Regions from separate parts of the Homo sapiens genome. Here region 1 is linked to region 2. The links are contacts of gene promoters, found by promoter capture Hi-C in human tissues and cell types (Jung and others, 2019). All regions are on one chromosome and are shown on one strand. The core of a region is centred on a gene start or on the middle of the fragment in contact, and the rest is flanking DNA. Distances in the headings are between cores, read along the strand shown. Region 1 overlaps KIAA0319L (KIAA0319 like). Region 2 holds the start of ZMYM4 (zinc finger MYM-type containing 4).

Region 1 (6,960 bases), core at 1,718-4,217, 210 kb after region 2:
TAAGACCTAGTATTTGATAGCACAACAGGGTGACTATAGTCAATAATATTTTAATTGCACATTTTAAAATAACTAAAATAATATAACTGGATTGTTTGTAACACAAAGGATAAAGGCTTGAAGGGATGGATACTCTATTTTACATGATGTGATTATTACACATTGCATGTCTGCATCAAAGTATCTCATGTATGCCATAAATGTATACAACTACTATATATCCACAAAAATTAAAAGTTTTAAAAATAAATAAAAATTAAAATAAAGATGCTATAAAAATGAGAGACCTACAACCAGACTTTCAGAAGGTAAGCAAATACACTGATCCAAATCTTTCTTCCCAGTAGGCTCTGATTGATCACTTGAACATTATACTTAATTGAATCATGTGCCTTTAAGTCACAGTGGAATCTGGATCTGTGAAAATTAGCCTCGTAAATTTCCATAAGCTGGAGGCCTGCTGAGGAAAGGCTCTAGAGCCCCCAGTCCATGACTGCAGGGGCAATGACAGAGTTATTTTTTCTCTAACACACAGTATTCAAGTTATGCCTCCCTTCCTTCTTTCCTCTAAAAGGGAATACTTTGATCAAATGTTCTACTTTTTCCTTCTATCTCCAAGAGCAAAGGTCCTTACCTGGGTATGGTGCTGAGGTGCTCTGGAAAGAGGCCTGGGGGGTAGGGGTAGCATAACTGTAGGAGGGAGCCACTGGCTGGGGGACAGCAATCTGGGTTTTCTCAGAACTTTTTACTTGTTGAGTGCTGGGCGTAGTAGCAAGACCCTCTGATATTTCAGGTTGCACTGATACATTCTTTGGCCCACCAGACAGCTCTGCAGTCAGGTCTGTGGTTAGGGGACTGGAAATTGTAATCGCCTTGTGGACCTAAAGAAATAAAAAAACTAATTTGAGTAGGTAAAAGTTACATAATTTTTCAGGTTATGTCTCATGAAACAATAGTCTATTAAATGTTCTCTTGAAAAATGCAAAAATATCAAAAATATTAAAGAAACTAATCTCACCACCCAAATAAAAGTGGTGTTAAATGTTGAGATAAATCTTGAGTTTTTTTCCTAGCCAAAATGTTTTGTTTAAAACAAAATAGTAATTTTCTGCATTCTAAGTGTGCTGGAAAAGCAAAACAATGTATACTTTTACCCTGTTAACATTTCTATTCAATCTTTCTACAAATACTTATTGAGCACCTATTACAAAATAGCCCTTGTGGATCCAAAATATAAATAAAACTAATCGTTGAGCACTGAAAGCATAATAAGCCAAAATAGTAAATATACCAGCTAAGCATGGTGGCTCACGCCTGTACTCCCAACACTTTGGGAGGCCAAGACAGGAGACCACTTGAACCTAGGAGTTCAAGACCAGCCTTGACAATATGGCGAGACCCTGTCTCTACAAAACATAAAAAATTAGCTGGGCATGGTGGCCATGCCTGTGGTCCCAGCTACTTGGGAGGCTGAGGTGGGAGAATCGCTTGAGCCTGGGAGGTCAAGGCCGCAGTGAACTGTGATCATGCCACTGTACTCTAGCTTGGGTGACAGAATGAGACCTTGTCTCAAAAAGAAAAAAAAAAAGTAAATATACCAATGTTTATGATGAGCCAAAAAAAAAAAAAAAAAAAAAAAAACACAAGCTAAAGTTACTTAATCCATCTCCCTTTGAGGGAGAAAGAGTATGGAAAAGAATGATTTTTTTATTATTATTATTAAAGAAAAAGGCTTCCTGAAGGAGAAGAGCCCTAAGCTGAGTTTTAGAGGATAAACAGTTGTTTACTAGACAAAAGGCAGAGGGCAGAGAATGAATGTAGGCACAAAAAATGAAATTAACATGGTCTGTATTGGGAACTGACAGCCATAAGCAAAGTGAGAGGCAAAAGTAATAGAAGATGAGCTGGAAAGATAGAGGCAAAGACCAGATGGAAAAAAGCATTACATGTTATTTTAAGAAACTAAGTAATGGTAAGCAATTTAAGGGTTGTATGCAAGGAAGTAACAAGGTCGAGTTTCTGTCTTACAAGTCATTTCTTAGCGTATGGGTTTGAAGAAGTAAGGCAATAGCAGGAATATCACTTAGAAGAGTACTGCTTTCATCCAAATGAGAAATAATGAGTAGCGAAACAAGGGTGGTGGTATGGATTTTTTAAAAATCAAATTCGGCCGGGTGTGGTGTCTCACACCTGTAATCCCAGCACTTTGGGAGGCCAAGACAGGTGGAACATTTGAGGTAAGGAGTTTGAGACCAGCCTGACCAACATGGTGAAACCCCATCTCTACTAAAAATACAAAATTTAGCTGGGCATGGTGGTACACGCCTGTAGTCCCAGCTACTCAGGAGGCTGAGGCACAAGAATCACTTGAACCCGAGAGGAGGCGGAGGCTGCAGTGAGCCGATATCATGCCACTGTACCTCAGCCTGGGCGACAGAGTGAAACTCTTGTCTCAAAAAAAAAAAATCAAATTGGTTGAAATATAATTCACATAAACTACACACATTTCAAGTATATAAGGTCAAAGTTTTGATAAATATATATACCCATGTAACCACAATTAAGAGAGAGAACATTTCTATCAGCCCCCAAAATTCATTCATGCCCCTTTATAATAAATCCCTGTCTCCATCTCTAGGCTCAGGAAACCACTGATTTGTTTGCTATCAAAGTGAGATTAGTTTGGGTTTTCTTGTATTTCATATAAAAGGAAGCATATACATACTATTTTTGTTTCTGGCTTTCACTCAACACGTTTTTGAAATTTATTCATGATATTGTGCATATCAGTAGTACATTCTTTTTTATTACTGAGTAGTTTTCCATTATAGAAATACACAAAAATTTGGTTTACATTTATCTACTGATGGAATTTTAAGTTGTTTTCCGTTCTTAGTTATAAAAACTGCTATGAATGTTTAAGTATACATGTTTCTGTAAACACGTGTTCTAATTTATCTTAGGTAGTTACTTAGGAGAATTGCTGGTTATACATAAGTATATGTTTAACTTTGTAAGAAACTATGAACTGTTACCCAAAGTGGCTGTACATTTTATATTTCTACCAGCAACATACGAGAGTTCCAGTTGCTCTACAACTTCACCAACACTTGGTATTCCTGGTCTTTTTATTTTTTGTCATTCTAGTGGTTATAAAGTAATATATCACTGATGACTTTCCTGATGACTAATAATATTGAGCATATTTTCCTGTGCTTATTGACCATTTTTTCTTTGAAGAGGCAAAGAGGTAAAGTTTATCCAAATTTTTACCCCCCCTTTTTAAAGCTTTATTAAGGTATAATTGACATACAATAAATTGAACATACATAAAATGTACAATTTGATAAATTTTTATGTATGTATACACATTTGAAACCACCAGTACAATCAAGCTAATGCATATCCATCACTTCCAAAGATTCCTCATGCTCCTTTGTAATGCCTTCTCCTCCCCACCCTAAGCAACCATTCTGCTGTTTCTTTTTTTTTTTTTTTTTTTTTTTTTTTTGAGATGGAGTCTTGCTCTGTCGCCCAGGCTGGAGTGCAGTGGCGCGATCTCGGCTCACTGCAAGCTCCACCTCCCGGGTTCATGCCATTCTCCTGCCTCAGCCTCCTGAGTAGCTGGGACTACAGGCGCCCGCCACCATGCCCAGCTAATTTTTTGTATTTTTAGTAGTGATGGGGTTTCACCGTGTTAGCCAGGATGGTCTCAATCTCCTGACCTCGTGATCCACCTGCCTTGGCCTCCCAAAGTGCTGGGATTACAGGCGTGAGCCACCACGCCCGGCCTGCTTTCTGTTTCTATAGTTTGCATTTCCTAAAAGGTTCTATAAATGGAATCACAAAGTAAGTACCCTTTTTTTTGAGAGGGGCAGTCTGGCTTATTTCACTCAGAAAAATTATTTTGTATGAATAACAAAATACAAACAAAATGTTTTGTGTATCAATAATTCATTTCTTAGCATTGCTAAGTAGTTTTCTGCTTTATATTATATACTATAATTTGTTTATTCATTCACCTATAGATGAACGTTTGGGTTTATTCTAGCTTTTGGCTATTACAAATCAAGCTGTTATAACCACTCATCTACAGGTCTTTTTTTTTTTTTTTTGAGATGGAGTTTCGCTCTTGTTGCCCAGGCTGGAGTGCAATGGCGCAATCTCGGTTCACCACAACCTCCGCCTCCCAGGTTCAAGCGATTCTCCTGCCTCAGCCTCCCGAGTAGCTGGGATTACAGGCATGTGCCACCACGCCCAGCTAGTTTTGTATTTTTAGTAGAGACTGGGTTTCTCCATGTTGGTCAGGCTGGTCTTGAACTCCAGACCTCAAGCGATCCACCCACCTCGGCCTCCCAAAGTGCTGGGATTACAGGTGTAAGCCACTGCGCCCAGCCTCTACAAGTCTTTGTATGGACATGTCCTTTTATTTCTCTTAGGTAAATACTTATAAATAGAACCCCCGATCAATGTACCTTTAACTGTTTCAAGAAACTGCCAAACCATTTTCTGAAGTTGTTATGACATAATATAGTACCACCACCAGTGTATTTCAGTTATCATATAATCTTGACAGAATTTGGTGTGGAAATCTTTTTAATTTTAGCCATTCGAGGTATGTAGTGGTATCTCACTGTGGTTGTAATTTACATTTTCCTAGTGATTAGCGACATTGAACATCTTTTTATGTATTTATCGGACACCTGTATAACCTCTTTGGTGGACTATCTGTTCCAATCTTTTGCCTGCTTTTTAAAATGGGTTACTAGTTTTCTAATCAAGTTACAAGAGCTCATTTATTTCTATAAATGAGTCCTTTGTCAGACATATAATTTGCAAATGTTTTCTCAGTCTGTATCTTCCTTTTTCGTTTTGTTAGTGTTAGCTTTTCATTAACAAAAATTTGTAATTTTGATAAGCTCCAATTTATCATTTGTTTCTTTTACAGTTCATGCTTTCAGTGACATGGCTAAGAAATCTTTGCCAAAGCAAGATCACAAAAATGTTCTCCTGGGTTCTCTTCCATAAGTTTTATAGCTTTTACTCTTAAATTGAGATCTATGATCCGTTTTGAGTTGATTTTCCTCTAGAGGTAAGGGTCAAGGTTCATGTTTTTACATATCATTATCTAATTGTTCTAGCACCATTTGTTGAAAAGATTATCCCTTCCCCACTGAACTGCACTGGCACATCAATGGACCATATAGGTGTGGGTCTATTTCTGGACTCTATATTATGTTCCATTAACTTAATCTAGTTTTATACCAATACCACTGCCTTGATTACTGTGGCTATACAGTAAGTCTTCTAGCTAGATAGTTTAAGTCCTCCAACTCTATTGTTCTTTTTCAAAATCATTTTGATCATTCTAGATCCCAATCTGTATAACATGGTTATATTTGTTTCCTAGAGCTGCCATAATGAATTACTATAAACTTTGTGGCTTAAAACAATAGAAATTCATTCTCTCACAGTTCTGGAGGCCAGAAGTCTGAAATCAAGGTGTTGGCAGGGCCATACTGCCTCTGAAGGCCCTAGAGGAGAATCTTTCTTTGCCTCTTCTAGCTCCTGGAGGCTCTTAGCATTCCTTGGCTTGCGGCAACCTAACTCTACTCTTCACGTGGCCTTCTTCCGTGTCTGTGTAGATGGATCCAAAGCTCCCTTTCCTTTCTCTCGTATAAAGACACCAGTCATTATATTAAGGGCCCACCCTAAATACAGGATGATTTCACCTGGAGATTCTCAACTAATTACATCTGCCAAGACCCTATTCCCAAATAAGGTCACATGCTGAGGTTCCAGATGGACATGAATGCGGGGAGGGGAGGACATCATTACTTATTTCTCATATTCCTCTCAGCAGAGTTTTGTAGTTTTCAGTATACAGTTTTTGCACATATTTTGTTAAGTTTATGCCTAAGTGTTTCATGTCTTTGGGTGTTACACATTTTTTAAAACTTCAAGCTAGGTATGGTGGTGCACACCTGGAGTTCCAGCTACTTGAGAGGCTGAAGGAGGATTGCTTGAACCCAGAAGTTCAAGGCCAGCCTAGGCAACATAGTGGGACCCCTATCTCTAAAATAAATAAATAATAAAACTTCAATTCCCAATTATTCATTGCTAATATAGAAACACAAGTGATTTCTGTGTATTGCCCTTATATCCTGCAATCTTGCTAACTTTACTTAATAGTTCCAGTGGCTTTTATGCAGATTCTTTAGAATTTTCTAGAAATAATCCAATCATCTGTGAATAAAGGCAGTTTTGCTTCTTCATTTCCAATCTCTATTTCTTTCATTTCTTTTTCTTGCATTATAATTGGCTAGGACCTCTACTACAATATTGACCAAATGTGGTTAGAGCCACTTCCCTATTTGTTAAGTAACTGTCATCTCATTTTCCTTTAAACCTTTGAACACGATTTAAGTTTTTAATCATATATATATATATATATATATATATATATATATATATATTTTTTTTTTTATTATACTCTAAGTTTTAGGGTACATGTGCACATTGTGCAGGTTAGTTACATATGTATACATGTGCCATGCTGGTGCGCTGCACCCACTAATGTGTCATCTAGCATTAGGTATATCTCCCAATGCTATCCCTCCCCCCTCCCCCGACCCCACCACAGTCCCCAGAGTGTGATATTCCCCTTCCCATATTTTTTTAACAGCTATTTTGAAGTCTCTGCTAAATCTAATAGCTGGGCCTATTCAGAAATCATTTCTATTAATGACTTTTTTTTCCCTGAGCATGGGTTACACCTTCCTGATTTTTCCTTGCATGTCTTATAATATCTGGTTGAAAACTAGAGGCTTCAGATAATCTACTGGAGTAGCTATCGATTGTTTTATTTACCTGATGGGCTATTTATTGTTTTTAATAACTTGCCTATACTTAAACTGCAAAATCTAATTCTCCCATAGTATGTTGTGACTGATGCTCTGC
Region 2 (7,468 bases), core at 4,225-6,724:
CAGTCTTTATTTGGTTACTGAGACCACAAATTCTCCTGACTTTCCTGCTACTTGGCTGATTCTCTTTCTCTTCCTGAGCTGTAAATGTCGGGGTGCCTCCGGATTCATTTCAATATACGTGCTCTTGGTAACTCTATCAAGTCTATGGCTTATATCAATGACTCTCATATTTCTATCTCTAGCCCTGTTATCTCTCCTAAGCTTCAGATTTGAATATCTAACTGCTATTCGACATTTCCACTTGGATGTCTAGAGGCATCTCAAATTTATCATGTCCAAGACATCTTCCTTCTTTCTCTGCCCACTTTCTCACATCTGCTCTCTTTTTTTGCATTTCAAATAATGGGCAACAGCATTAACCTATCTATTCAGGCTAAAAAGCTAAGAATCATCCCTAAATCACTTTTTCTTTCACTCCCAGCACCCAATTCATTAGCAGCAATTCCATGGGCTACGCCTTCAAAATACATATATTCTGAATCTAATTTTTACTATCTCCAACGCCAATGCCCTAGGCTAAGTCATTGTTATCTCTTACCTGGACTGCCACAAAGCCTCGTAACTTACATCCACCCTTGCTCCTTTATGGCTTATTCTGCAATGCACATGGTATCCAGAGGGTTCACATCATTTTTTTTTTTTTCAAAGACTTCAATGGCTTTACATCATACACAGAAAATTACAAATCCTTACCATGGCATCCAAGGATCTTCATAATTTGTCTTTGTCTGCTTCTCTGACTTCATCTTCTGCCCCATCTCACTTGGTCCTAGTAACATCGGCACCTTGCTTTTCTTGAACACTTCAAGTTTGTTCCTGCCAAGGGGTTTTACACTTGCTGCTCCCTTTGACTGGAATGCTCTGACCCAGACATTTGCACAGATGGCTCTCAGTCATGAGGTCATGATTTAAGTTTCAGTTCAAATGTCACCTCCTAGCCAGGTGCGATGGCTCACAGCTGTAATCTCAGCACTTTGGGAGGCCGAGGTAGAAGAATCACTTGAGCCCAGGAGTTTGAGGCTCCAGTGAGCTATGAAGGTGACACTGCACTCCAGCCTGGATGACAGAGCAAGATCCTGCCTCTTTTTTTTTTTTTTTTTTTGATACAGCGTCTCACTTTGTCGCCCAGACTGGAGTGCAGTGGCACGATCTTGGCTCACTACAACCTCTGCCTCCTGGGTTCAAGCAATTCTCCTGCCTCAGCCTCCCGAGTAGCTGGGATTACAGGCATGTGCCACCATGCCCAGCTAATTTTTGTATTTTTAGTAGAGACAGGGTTTCACCATGTTGGCCAGGCTGGTCTGGAACTCCCGACTTCAAGTGATCCACCTGCCTCGGCTCCCAAAGTGCGGGGATTACAGGCATGACCCACCGTGCCCAGCCAAAACCCTGCCTCCAAAAGAAAAGAAAAAGAAAAACAAAGTCACCTCCTCGGAAAATATTCACTGACTAACATATCTAAAGTAGCCCCACTACAGTTATTTTTTATCCCACTTGTTTTACTTTCTTCCTAACATTTTCTGAATGGATCTACCTAAATGTCCAATGTAGTTTAAAACATATTTGAATCTAATGGTTAGAATTCTGTTAGTTAATAATTTCTTTTGGAAAGAAACACTGTATCTTTCCTGTGGCTGCCCTCTCCCTCTGAGTGAGTATCTAAAATAACGTCTGCATTTATGAGGCATTATGACTTTGGGGAAGCCTGAGACCTTGAATCTATTCGGAGTCCCTGACCTCTCAGGATGCTCTACAGCCTGTTGTTAAGAGAGTGGAATGTTTTGTAGCCTGGCCTCGCTAAGTTTGCTCAGAGCCTGAAGGCAAACCACACAGCTCTTCCTGAGGTCTGGCTGTTACTACTTTTTGTTCCTGGCCCAGTGTAATTTACAGAGCTACTTCCTCCTATACTTGCCAGCCAGCATTCTTGGCTACTTTCCGTATTCTTCTACAGGGTATGTGGGAACTTCTGGATATCTTCTCTCGCAGGAGCTAAGGACCACTCACTTGCAGAGCTCCGCCCAAAACCCTGTACCTAATTTTGTGTATGTAATTCTGTGTTCTTTTTCTTAAAAACAAAACAAAACAAACAAACAAAAAAACCCTCCCTCTCCCCCCATCATGTAAGCTTCAAGATCTGTAAAACCTGGATTCATCTCTGGCTGAGAGACACTCTGAGGAGCTAAATGCAGACCTGCTCTTTTTTCCCAACTACATCAGGGCATGACTTTTGCTCATATGTGGCTGTCTGCTTGTTGGTATGGGCATAGTCTGCAAGTCATCTCTACTTGGAATCTTAAACAGGAGCAGAGTAAGAATCCTCTCTGCCTTGAAGAGCTGGAATGGGAAGACAGGAGCACATGTCTCTCAATGATGCCTCTCTTACTTTTCTCTTTGTTCTTCTTCTCTCTACCCTTTTATTAAAAGAGTCAGACTTTTCTTTTATTTCCCTATATGCAGCCTCATGGCTTAGCTGTCCTGGATGGAAGGATATTTGGGTGGAAGGCATTTCCTGTGGAGTATGTAAAAACTCTATGAAATTATTATGTGCTGAGCTTCATAGATTAAATGGAACTAAGAAAATTTAGCAAATTCTTTTTCTCTCCATTCTGTTCTCTCCTGATTGGGAAAATAAGTCTCAAGGCTACATTTCAAGCAAGAGTCTATGACAGAAGATGACTTAAGAAAGTTAAAAGAAATCTGTTTGATATTTGCAAGATACTAGCCCCATTATAGTCTAGTTTTTTTTTTTTTTTTTTTTTGAAACAAGTCAGAGCACTGAACTTGTAGGTGAAATATCCCATTTAAAATGTTGATATATGATTTAACTTTTTTTTTTTAAAAAAAAGATAATGGCCGGGCGCGGTGGCTCACGCCTGTAATCCCAGCACTTTGGGAGGCCGAGGCAGGCGGATCACAAGGTCAGGGGATCAAGACCCTCCTGGCTAACACAGTGAAACCCAGTCTGTACTAAAAATACAAAAAGTTAGCCGGGCATGGTGGCGGGTGCCTGTAGTTCCAGCTACTCGGGAGGCTGAGGCAGAAGAATGGTGTGAACCCGGGAGGCGGAGCTTGCAGTGAGCCCAGATCGCGCCACTGCACTCTAGCTCGATGACAGAGTGAGACTCTGTCTCAAAAAATAATAATAATAATAATAATGATACTCATATGGTATTAGGAACCAACAGTGTTCTAGGAGATTTAGAGATGTTAACTAATTTAATCCTCTTGGTGTCCCATTTTACAGATAAGGAAAGTGAGGCACAGGACAATTACCTTGACCAAGATCATATAGCTATACACAATACAAATCAAATGCATTTCTGTGGGACAGATTTGGTCACAAGGCCACCAATTTACAATGTCTACTTTACGATATTTCAAATAAGTCAGAAAGAACAAGGCTTTGAATTCTGACTTGGCCTCTGTGCTGAATGATCTTGGACTAGTCACTTAAGCTCTGTGAATCCTTCTATAAAATTATGATTAACTTTTCAGTGCTCACTAAATGGTTTTCTCTTGTCTTATTCCTCCATATGGATGACTGCCCTGAACATTCATGTTATGCTTGTATATTATCTGAAATGCACAAATCCCACCTATTATTCGAGACCTAACACATTGCTAATACCTCCAGAAACAGTCTGTGTAGGACAGAGCCCTGAGGATCAAGATGTCTGTTTCAGTCTTGATACTGTTACTAATCCTGTGTGTGATCTCAAGCAAATCATATCTTCTCTAAGCCTCAGAGGCTTCATCTTGAAAATGTGGAGTTAGACTAAACTAATAAGTTTAAACTGTGATCTGAGAAACTCAACATTTCTGTAATGATGGGAGGGGGCATGAAAGGAGAGAGAGTGCAAGGGTGAAGCTGGGTGAATAGACTAGTGGGTTCCCCACTTACACTCCCAACTTAGCAGCTCCACATTTTAAACCACCAGATTTTATTAGAAGGGAGTATTCCACTGCCAATAAAACAGGTGGAAACCACTACAAGTTTTATGTAGCCACATTCCCTGGAATTATCTTTTCTTGGCTCCTCTTTTCTTTCTTGTCCTGGACATGGAACTAAAGGGAACATGTTTTTAAAATTCTGGCTGAAATGAACATATTTCTTTGTCCTTCTTTCTTCTCTCCTACCGAGGAGTGAAATTAAAGACAGTGCTAAAGGCATAAGCAAGGCCAGTATGGAAACTTCCAGCAATTTCACCAAAAGTTTTCAGCAAAATATTACAGATTAGAAAACATCTGTTTCAGAATAGCTACCAAGTGCTAAATAAAACAGAAAACAGAAGTTACATCTCATTATCCTGTGACTTCAGGAGTTATCATTCCCACTTGAATATGTCTTGTCATGGGAAATGACCTTCAGGAGGCATCTTCTTTGTATTTCTTACTATATGTCTCCCCACTGTCCCTGAACTATCATTATAAACTTAATTTTTTCTGCACCCAAAGCTTGTGGGAACTAGAATGAACAGAAGAGGAATGAATGAAGCCCTCATTCTTTTCAGCGATTTTCAGCTTAGGACCCAGTTTTGGAACAAGATAGACCCAAATCTACTTCCTGGTTTCCTGCTTAGAAATAAGATGCTTATCCTTTAAGGCAGATTGTCAAGCTCCTTCAATAGAGGTGAATGAGGACACCCATCATCTGCAAATCATTACATCTTCACAAGAGAATTATGATATTCTCCAAATACCATGAAACTTCAATTTTTAATCTTCTAGGGATATCAAATTAAACCAAATTTATCTCTCGCCTGAAGACAGCCTGGAGGACTGAGACTGTAATCTTGATTCCAACTCCACACCAGCCATTAGTTACATTGGGACAAATTCCTTCCCATGATCAGGCTGCAATTTTATCATTGGGAGCACTGGAGTAAATGGTTCCCTAAGATCCTTCTCCATTTTGATGTTCTAAGGATAAATTACTATTGAAGAAATTATTTCCAGTTGTTGGTTCAATCTTCAAAATCACCAAAAGCTTTGATTTTAAGGTGAGGTTATAGGAGTTGGCTCTTGATATTCTATGCCTTGTGCTTCAGAACAGGCAGTCGAAAGGGAGGAAAGTTGGTTTTCCTTGAGATGACTGTCTTGTTCCCTCATTGGTTTGGGATTCTTCATGTTCAGAGGTCCACTGAGAACTTCAGCTTACCATGACTTTCCCTCTTCAATGGTACCACTGTAGTCAGGTGTAAGATGGTGATGTGGAACCCTTCACTGACATTGCACCCAATTCTCCAGATTGTCTTTCCAGTAATTTCTTTCATTTCTCCTTCATCCCTGCGTCATGGTCCCTTTAAGGGAGCGGCCATAGTTGAGTGGTGGGAGCAGCTGCTGGCAGCAAAGAGACTTGCAGGATTTGGCCTACCCATGGCCACTTACCGCGCACGCTCAGGACCGGGGGCTTGGTGGGAAAGGAAGGAGGGACTTAGGGTGCGCCTGCGCATCAGGGGCGCGCGCAAGGGGCTGATTTGGTGATCCCTTTAAGAAACCGCAGGCGGAGGAATTTCTCTGAGAGAAAATAATCCTACTCACGGGGCCCCTTGGAGGCCATTAACCCCCCGAGTCCCGGCCCCCACCCCGTCCCCGGGCAGGCCCTCCCGCCCACGCGCGGACCCGTGGGATCTCAGAAGCTGCGGCCCGGCGCGCGGCATCCGCCCCCTCCCCACTCTCGGCGCAAGGCCCGGCCGGGTCCGGGGAAGCTGCCGCGAGGCGGCCGTGCCTGCAGTGTGGGCGGGGGCCGGGGGGCCGAGAGGTACCGCCGCCACCGCGCGGGGAGCCGCAGCGGTTCCGAGCGGGGCCCAACATGGCGGAGAGAGAGGTGGAGTCCGGCCCCCGAAAGAGGGTAGGTGAGGTGAGGCAGAACTCGGGCGGCGGGGGGCGGGGCGCGGCCCGGGGCCGGGAATGGGCCATACTCAGGTTCGTGGAGGGGTCGCCGAGGCCCAGTTAGGACAAGGTTGCGGGCAGGTCTGAGGCAGCCTTGGGTCCGGAGCGCGCTGGCGAGCGGTCCCTCGGCAGGTGGGACAAAGATTTGGTGCTGGGTGGGGGGGAGGGGAGGGGGCCGTTGTTTGCCTTCCTCCCCCCGACGTTCCCCAGCACTGGGGTGGGATATCTAGGCCCAGGGAGGGGAGGTGTCAGATTCTTAAGTGCATCTTTAGTGCATCTTTAGTACATCAGAGTCTGGAAGTTAACTGGGGAGAGGTCAGGTGGGGGTGGTGGTGGCGGGAATAAGTCGTGGAGGGGTCTCAGGAGAAATAACCGGAGGGTTCTTCAGTAACACCATCGCGAATTCATTTTCCTGCCTCCTTTCCCCTCCCCCCATAGCCGTTATCTAGACCAAAGTCGGGGTGGTGGTCTTACCTGTGAAGAAGTGGGATCGTTGGCATGTCCTGATTTAGGAGAAAGATTTTGGCTACTATGAATGTCATGTTCTAGCCTAGCCTCTTACTCGCAATTAGGGACTTGGAAGAATACGACAAGTTTTCTCATAACAGGGATGTACCCAATCAACCTGCAGAGGTGAAGCCAATTCTACATAGGAGTTGTTTGAATACCTTTTAAAGTTTGTCTGGAAACTTTCCTTATTTAATTCTGAGTGGTTTTTTTCAGATGGCGAACAATACTGTACTATCGATTGAGCAATATCCCTCACTTTTCTTTTACTTCCTCCCCGCTTAGCATGATAAGAAGTAAGTTTCCTTTTAGGAGTCTTCCTTTTGGGAATGGTTTCAGAAACGATCAATTAGCAAAAGGGCAAAAAATTACTACTTTATGAAGAATGCCCTTTCAGCTTAGCGTAAAATTAGTAATCTCGTAATGATGCTACAGCTGATGTTTTGAGTGCTTACTGTGTGCCTGGCACTGAGCTAAGACCTTTATGTGAAGAATTTAACTTCATAGTAACTCCTCCTAGAACCTATTTGCAGATGAGGAAATTTAGGTGTTGAGGGCTTAAGTAATTTACTTAGATCACACAGCTAGTTGCAAGGTTGAGGTAGGATTTGAATCCAGGTTTGTCCCAACTATAGTGCCTGTGTGGGATGCCACAGAGGAGTTTCTTTAATCTGTGTTTCTCTCCTTAAAAGCTTAAATTGTAAATGACCAAAGAAGTGTCAAGTATTATTTTTTCCAACAATTTATTAGGAAAATATTTTGAACTATCCGTCAATATTATAAAACTTACGGGGAGCAGTCATACACCCAACCGCCTAGATCCTACTGTTAACATTGCATTCCGGACATGCACAGCGGCTCACGCCTGTAATCCCAGCACTTTGGGAGGCCGAGGCGGCAGGATCACTTGAGGCCAGGAGTTCGAGACCAGCCTGGCCAACATGGTGAAACCCCGTCTCTACTAAAAATACAAAAAATTAACCCGGCGTGGTGGCGGGTGCCTGTAATCCCAGCTATTCGGGAGGCTGAGGCAGGGGAATCGCTTGAACCTGGGAGGCGGTGGTAGCAG

The links. Contacts are between HindIII fragments. The study calls those that stand out against the background at their distance.
Region 1: a contact is called between a fragment that was not itself captured here and the fragment with the promoter of ZMYM4 in region 2, in 1 of the 25 tissues and cell types used here (psoas muscle).

The regions. Positions count from the first base shown.
Region 1 is chr1:35,478,332-35,485,291 of GRCh38, forward strand. It overlaps KIAA0319L (KIAA0319 like), which reads right to left. Exons shown (of 21, transcript NM_024874.5): 4 at 635-881. Among named protein-coding and RNA genes, the nearest start is that of KIAA0319L, 76 kb to the right of the region's middle. The HindIII fragment of the contact is 4,433 bases long and covers 752-5,184 here.
Region 2 is chr1:35,263,235-35,270,702 of GRCh38, forward strand. ZMYM4 (zinc finger MYM-type containing 4) reads left to right here and starts at 5,475. Exons shown (of 30, transcript NM_005095.3): 1 at 5,475-5,851. The coding sequence starts at 5,813. RefSeq lists enhancers at 5,165-5,224, 5,245-5,304 and silencers at 5,435-5,794, 5,865-5,994. The HindIII fragment of the contact is 5,206 bases long and covers 4,722-7,468 here.